2 separate regions of the Homo sapiens genome follow, and region 2 is linked to region 1. Evidence: promoter capture Hi-C in human tissues and cell types (Jung and others, 2019). All regions are on one chromosome and are shown on one strand. Each heading gives the region's core, a stretch centred on a gene start or on the middle of the fragment in contact. The rest is flanking DNA. Distances are from core to core; before and after follow the strand shown. Region 1 holds the start of SCNN1G (sodium channel epithelial 1 subunit gamma). Region 2 overlaps USP31 (ubiquitin specific peptidase 31).

What was found. Contacts are between HindIII fragments. The study calls those that stand out against the background at their distance.
Region 2: a fragment that was not itself captured here is called in contact with the fragment with the promoter of SCNN1G in region 1 in 2 of the 25 tissues and cell types used here (IMR-90 fibroblasts and aorta).

Annotation. Positions count from the first base shown.
Region 1 is chr16:23,181,178-23,184,318 of GRCh38, forward strand. SCNN1G (sodium channel epithelial 1 subunit gamma) reads left to right here and starts at 1,568. Exons shown (of 13, transcript NM_001039.4): 1 at 1,568-1,636. RefSeq lists a silencer at 1,290-1,539. The HindIII fragment of the contact is 8,387 bases long and covers 1-2,907 here.
Region 2 is chr16:23,073,178-23,076,318 of GRCh38, forward strand. USP31 (ubiquitin specific peptidase 31) reads right to left here. Exons shown (of 16, transcript NM_020718.4): 14 at 545-703. Among named protein-coding and RNA genes, the nearest start is that of USP31, 75 kb to the right of the region's middle. The HindIII fragment of the contact is 7,379 bases long and covers 1-3,141 here.

The DNA.
Region 1 (3,141 bases), core at 318-2,817:
TAGGAATTTGGAAATTCGGACTCTTAAGACCCACTCCACCCCTATCGAGTCAGAATCTGCATTTTAACAACATCCATAGGTGATTGTAACCACATTCAAATCTGAGAAGCTCTAGGTAAGAACAGATCCTTTCCTCTCTCTGGGCTTCAGTTTCTCCCCGGCACAAAGGGGCTGTGTCTCTATGGTCCCTCCCAATTGCAGTTTTCTAATCTCGTTTCTTGTAGTTATCTGAGTCCCTATAAAAAGGCAGCTGAAGCTAGGAAAGGTGGCTTACCTCTGTAATTCCAGCTATTTGAGACGCTGAAGTGGGAGGCTCGCTTGAGCCCAGTAGTTGGCAGCTACAGTGAGCTATGATTGCAGCACTGCACTCCAGCCAAGGTGACAGAGGCAGACCCTGTTAAAAAAAGAAAGAGAGAAATAGAGGAAAGAAAGAAAGAAAAAGAAAGAAAGAAAGAAAGAAAGGAAGAAAGAAAAAGGAGGGAGGGAGGGAGGAAGGAAGGAAGGGAGAGAGAGAAAGAAGAAAGAGGGAGGAAGGAAGGAAGGAAGGCAAGCAAGCAAGAAAGAGAAAGGAAGGAAGGAAGGAAGGAAGGAAGGAAGGAAGGAAGGAAGGAAGGAAGGAAGGTGGGCGGGCGGGAAGGCAGGCAGGCAGGCAAGGAAGGAAGGAGGAAAGAAAGGAAAGAAAGAGAGAAAGAGAAAGAAGGACAGGCCAGGCGCGGTGGCTCACACCTGTAATCCCAGCACTTTGGGAGGCCAAGACGCGTGGATCACCTGAGGTCAGTAGTTTGAGACCAGCCTGGCCAACATGGTGAAACCGCGTCTCTACTAAAAACACAAAAATTAATCCGGGCATGGTGGCGCGCGCCTGTAACCCCAGCTACTTGGGAGGCTGAGGCAGGAGAATTGCTTGAACCCGGGAGGCGGAGGTTGTAGTGAGCTGAGATAGCGTCATTGCACTCCAGACTGGGCGACAGAGCGAGACTCCGTCAAAAAAAAAAAAAAAGAAGGAAAGAGGAAAAGAAAGAAGAAGGAAGGAGGAAATAACGAAAGAAAGAGAAAGAAGCAGCTGAAAAGGTCAAAGGATGAGTGGCCTGGCTGAACAGCCCCTGCTGCCTACAGCCGGACGCTGGTGGGCACTGAAGCTGCAGGTCTGGAGGGAGTCCGAGGAGCGAGGCTGCGTGGGATTACTGCTGGTGCTAGGGCAGGCACCTGCCATCTGGACGGGAGTGGAAGGAAGTCGCGGGGCAGTAATAGGGGGCAGCAGGCGCTTTGAGGCGCCTTGGGGTAAGTGCCGCAGAGACCCAGCGGGAATGCAGGATGGCAGGGCGGCCTCGGGGCGGCAGCAGGCACTGCGCGGTGGCCCAGGAAGACGCAGCGCGGCCGGGCTGGGGCGCAGGGCGGCTTCGGGGCGCCAGGGGGCGTTGTGAAGTCGTGGCCCGCTCCGGGCGGTCTCAGGTGCCTGGCGGCCTGGGGAAAGCACCTGGGCAGGTGGGGGCGGGGCCTGGGGAGGCGGGTCCCTAGGGGGCGGGGCCTGGCCGGCCCACAAGAGCCCGCGGTGGCGCTGCCAGGGGATGCTAGCCCGAGAGCGAGCAGAGGAGCAGCGCACCCGCACGAGCCTTGGACCCTTTGGAACCGAAAGGTGAGTTCAGCCGGGTTGGGTCGGACCAGCTCGGGGGTTCTGGGCACTGGAGCGGATGCCGGGCGCCAGGGCGTCGGACGCCGTCAGCGCGGTGGGTGGCCGAGCCAGCATCAGCCGGTGGCGGCTTCCCGGTGCCCGGGATGCTGGGACACCTTGCCCGGGCGGTAGCGGCCAGCTCTCCCGGGTCTACCCACGCCGTGGCCCGGAGCACGAAGCCAGTCGAGAGCCACTCAGAGTCCGGGGGTCTGGGGGTCCCGGGCCACACCTGGCCTCTTTTCTCCGCCCAGCGCCTGTTCAGCCCCCTTCCCTGCCGGGGTGAGTCGCGTGGACCTGTCCGCTACTGTTCCTTCTACCCTCTGGAATGCTTTCTCCGGGGTGACTTGGTGCAGAAAGAAGCAAACACTTGAAGTGGGCTGGTTGGATTCGCTCCAGCGCCTTCAGCCGGCGCTCCCCCGGGGCAGACGTGGCTTCCGCCACAGGACAGCGCCCGCTCGCTCCGCGCAGGGAGGGCAGGGCTGCGGGGTCGCTCGGCAGGAGCTCGGGTCAGGGCCCTGAGGTTGAGTTCAAGTGATTTCTGCACAGGACTCGCCCTTCGGGACGGGCACTGATCGGGAACTCTCCGGTCCAGCGAACCCAACGCTAGACTTGGGGCAAATCTCTCATCCCTCTCCAAGCTTTGGGGTCCTGCACTGTGGGATGGGGGACAGGCAAAGTCGGTGGTAGGTGAGGAGGGGGTGCACGGAGCCGCTGCGATGAGCCAGGGCCCTGGAATTCTAAAGAATCCTTCAAATCCTTTCTACCTGTGTGGTCTTGGGCAAATTACCTAACCTCTGTGCCTCAGTTTCCTTCTCTGTGAAATGGGCCAAGTAATAGCACCTCATATAACTGTAGTGAGGATTAAATCAGGTAGTGTGTGAAAAGGACTGAGTGGGATGCCTGGGAGTACAGAAAGGGATCAATAAGTGATAGCTGCCATTATTGCTGCTTTCCCTGCTGCTGTTATTATTATTAATGATTGAAGAGCAGCCTAGTTAGTCGTTAAAGGGACTCCTAGGTGCAAATCCCAGCTCAGCCACTTTCTAGTGTGACCTTGGGCAAGCTACTTAACCTGTCAGCGTCTGTTTCATTTGTACAATGGAGGTGGTTGTGATACCTACCTCAGACGATTATCGTGAAAATTAAATGAGGTGACAGCTGCAAAGTACTTAGAAGAGTAAGTGCTGGGTATCAGCTAGTAATTCTTCCACCAAGGGTATCACATTGGCTCAGGCTGCATAATCTAATGGTAGCTACAGTCTTGTTTTGCTTTGAAGTTGAAATATTATTTATATGAATATTTTATCTGTTTTGCAAAGAGCAAGATCAGTTCCCTTCCTTCACTTGGGGGCTCCTCTGACATTGTCGACTGATCCATTGGGGTCAAGGTCGGTTCTGGGGAAGGGGCTGATGGGGCAGAGGTACCCCTGAGAGCTGGGGATAGGAGCTTCCAGAATCACAGCTTCTGT
Region 2 (3,141 bases), core at 244-2,743, 110 kb before region 1:
CCAAGCCACCTAATATTATCACAGCCATCAATCCTTCTCCTAACAGAATAGTCCAATCTTCTCACTGGAAAAGCAGACTATTTCTAATGGTCCTTTACCCTTTACAAAATGTTTTAACACACATTTATCTAACTGGATGCTTACGATGACCCCATGAGGTAGGCATTATTATTACACCTGTATTATAGATGATTGCTATGTGGCCCAGATGGGACAGGCTCCAGGATAACCCCAGGACAGCGGGTAGTATGCCACGCTGCTTTTCAGCTCACCCATGCATTTATCCACAAGAACACATCATGAGCTTTCTTTGCGCCAGGTCCAACCCACTGTCCCCAGTGAACTCCACTGGGCCACAGGTGCTGTCACATTCCTCCCCAACTTCCTTGACTGCAGTCATTTTAGTTTCCAGATTAAATGGAAACGTAAGGATTCATCTGATCAAACTGACAGAGTCATGAGAGCCTCCAGAGAGGTCCTCTAGACCATTCATTACAATCTTTTGCTCTGGAAAAAACTGCCCAAGAACAAGAGTGGACCTCACCTGCCACCGAGCTGTTGGCTGACCATGACGGGATGGCTGTCCGCCTCTGGTAGAAGAGGATGTATGCTGTCTGCGTGCAGACCTCATCTTCTGACAGCTGCTGCACATCGCTGTCATCGAAGCAGTACCAGAGGCCGTCCACAGAGTTCTTACAGTACGCTGCCAAAGAGAGCCCGCCATCAGCACCAGGGGAGGCTGCACCAGCCACTTCATGCGACCCACAGACACCATCTCTTTGGCTCATCTAATTAACTCAAGAACGTTTTAAGGCTGCGTATAGCAACACAGAAAGAGATTAAAAAAAAATTCTAAATTCTGTATCACACTCGAGCAAAATATCTTGAGAAATTCCAAACCATTCCAAGTAGATGCAGTTCCAGTTCATCTTAGAAAACACATACTTATTTAAACCAATGGGTCTCAACCAGGGAACTGTGTCTGTGGCGGGGGGAGTGGGATTTGGCAATGAATGGAGATGTTTTTGATTGTCACAACTCAAGGGAGAGGTGCTACTGGCATCTAGTGGGTAGAGGCCACGGATGCTGCTAAACATTCTATAATGCACAGGACAGCCCCCTGCAAGACAAAACTGTCCGACCAAAATGGTGCCAGGGTGAAGAAACCCTGAGTTCAGTGTGTTGCAACATTTTAGTGTCTATTAGAAATAGCAAATAATATGAATAGAAATAACAATATAATGATATGATAGCAGATAAATATAATATGTAACACTTATTATGTGCCAAGCATCTCATTTAATCCTCAGATTTGTTCTCTTATTACTCCCAATTTCCAGAGGTTGAAAAAGATTAATCTGCTTGCCCAAGGTCGTGCAGCTGGTGAAAGGCAGGAGCCCAGCTCATTTCAGGCTTATCAAGTCCTTGGCTTGCACTTGAAGCCCTATCCTGCCCTGCTTCCCTCAGGGAGGAGCACAAACCAGGCTCCATGGAAGTTCCCTGGCAGACTGAGAACACATGAGCTCATGAACGCAGGAGGACTTCTTTCAGTCCAAATTCTAAGCCTGAGCTAGAAATAAAGAACATTCAAGTAGCAGCAAAAACAGACGAAAACTTAAGAGTTCACAAACCCAGTCATCCTGCAAGGATATATCAAAGGGTGTTATAAGCTTGATCCAGAAAAGTACATTATGATCACATTTTCTAAAAATATGCATTTATTTGGGGTGAGAATAAACGAGTGCTAGAATATTTAGCTGAATGCTGGAACAGACTCAGGATGGCCCCAGGGATGGGGCAGATAAGGTCCTGAGAGGCACCAGGAGTGACTCCTTCAATGGGCCATAACCATTTCCGCAAGTATGGAGACTTAAGGGATAAAAGAGACGCGGGTGAGAAAGGGCTACACCAGACAAGTCCCCCAAAATGAGAGCAGAATAAGGACCTATGAACGGAGGCAGGGAAGTTATTTGCAGCTGAGAACTTGCCGGAACCAGAAGGGAAAGAACTTAAAATGTAAGCAGCAAATGGAGCTCTAAGGAAACAGCAATTGGCCAGTGGCGTCAGGTCAGGCTTGATGCACACATGACCCAGCTGGGGAGTAGCTGCTCTTCTGGAGTGGTGAGTGGGAGCAGAGCTGTGAGGGACATGCCCAAGAGAAGGAGACAGAACAGCCTTGCCTCCTTTCAGCCTGCTCCTCTTCAGAATGGCCTCTTCTCAGTCACAGTGTGGAAACTGAGACAGCACAGCAAACTCATTAATTACAAAATAATTCTACTTGCTTTTCTTCCTAGAACTACTTTCTGAAGTATTCTCTAGGCCAGTGCTACTAGAATTATGGCTCACGGACTGACACGAGCCCACACGAGAGAAGCACCAAAAAGGAGAAAAGCATTTAAAAAACTTTTATAGCAATCTGATACTGCCGTGATATTTTTATTGTATTCTTACAAATGCACTAGTTGATAAAGGATTGGAAATTTTAAAGTAGAAAAAACCAAGTTCTTCATCACAGATGGTGTGAGAGGCACTGTTCTAGAATCCTTACACAATCGATTATATCATTATACCATCGATTATAGCTAGAAACAGTGCAAAATAAAGATTACATCAAAATAAACATTCCAGGCCGGCCATGGTGGCTTATGCCTACAATCCCAACACTTTGTGAGGCTGAGGCAGAGGACTGCTTGAGATATGGAGTTCGAGACCAGTCTGGACAACATAGTATAGGCCCTGACTCTACAAAAAAATTTAAAAATTAGGCAAGTGTGGTGGCGCACACCTGTAGTCCCAGCTACTTGGGAAGCTGAGGTAGGAGGATCTTGAGCCCGGGAGGCTGGGGCTGCAGTGAGCCACGATCACACACTGCACTCCAGCCTGGGTGACAAAGTGAGACCCTGTCTCAAAACATAAAATAAACATTCCAAATGAAAACTTAAAAATGGGGATGAGGGGTGAGAGAGCATCAGGAAGAATAGCTTAATGCATGCTGGGCTTAATACCTAGGTGATGGGATGATCTGTGCGGCAAACCATCATGGCACATGTTTACCTAAGTAACCAACCTGCACATCCTGAACACGTACACCTGAACTTAAAAGTTGATGTTAAAAAAAAAAAAAAAAGAAAAAACTTAAAA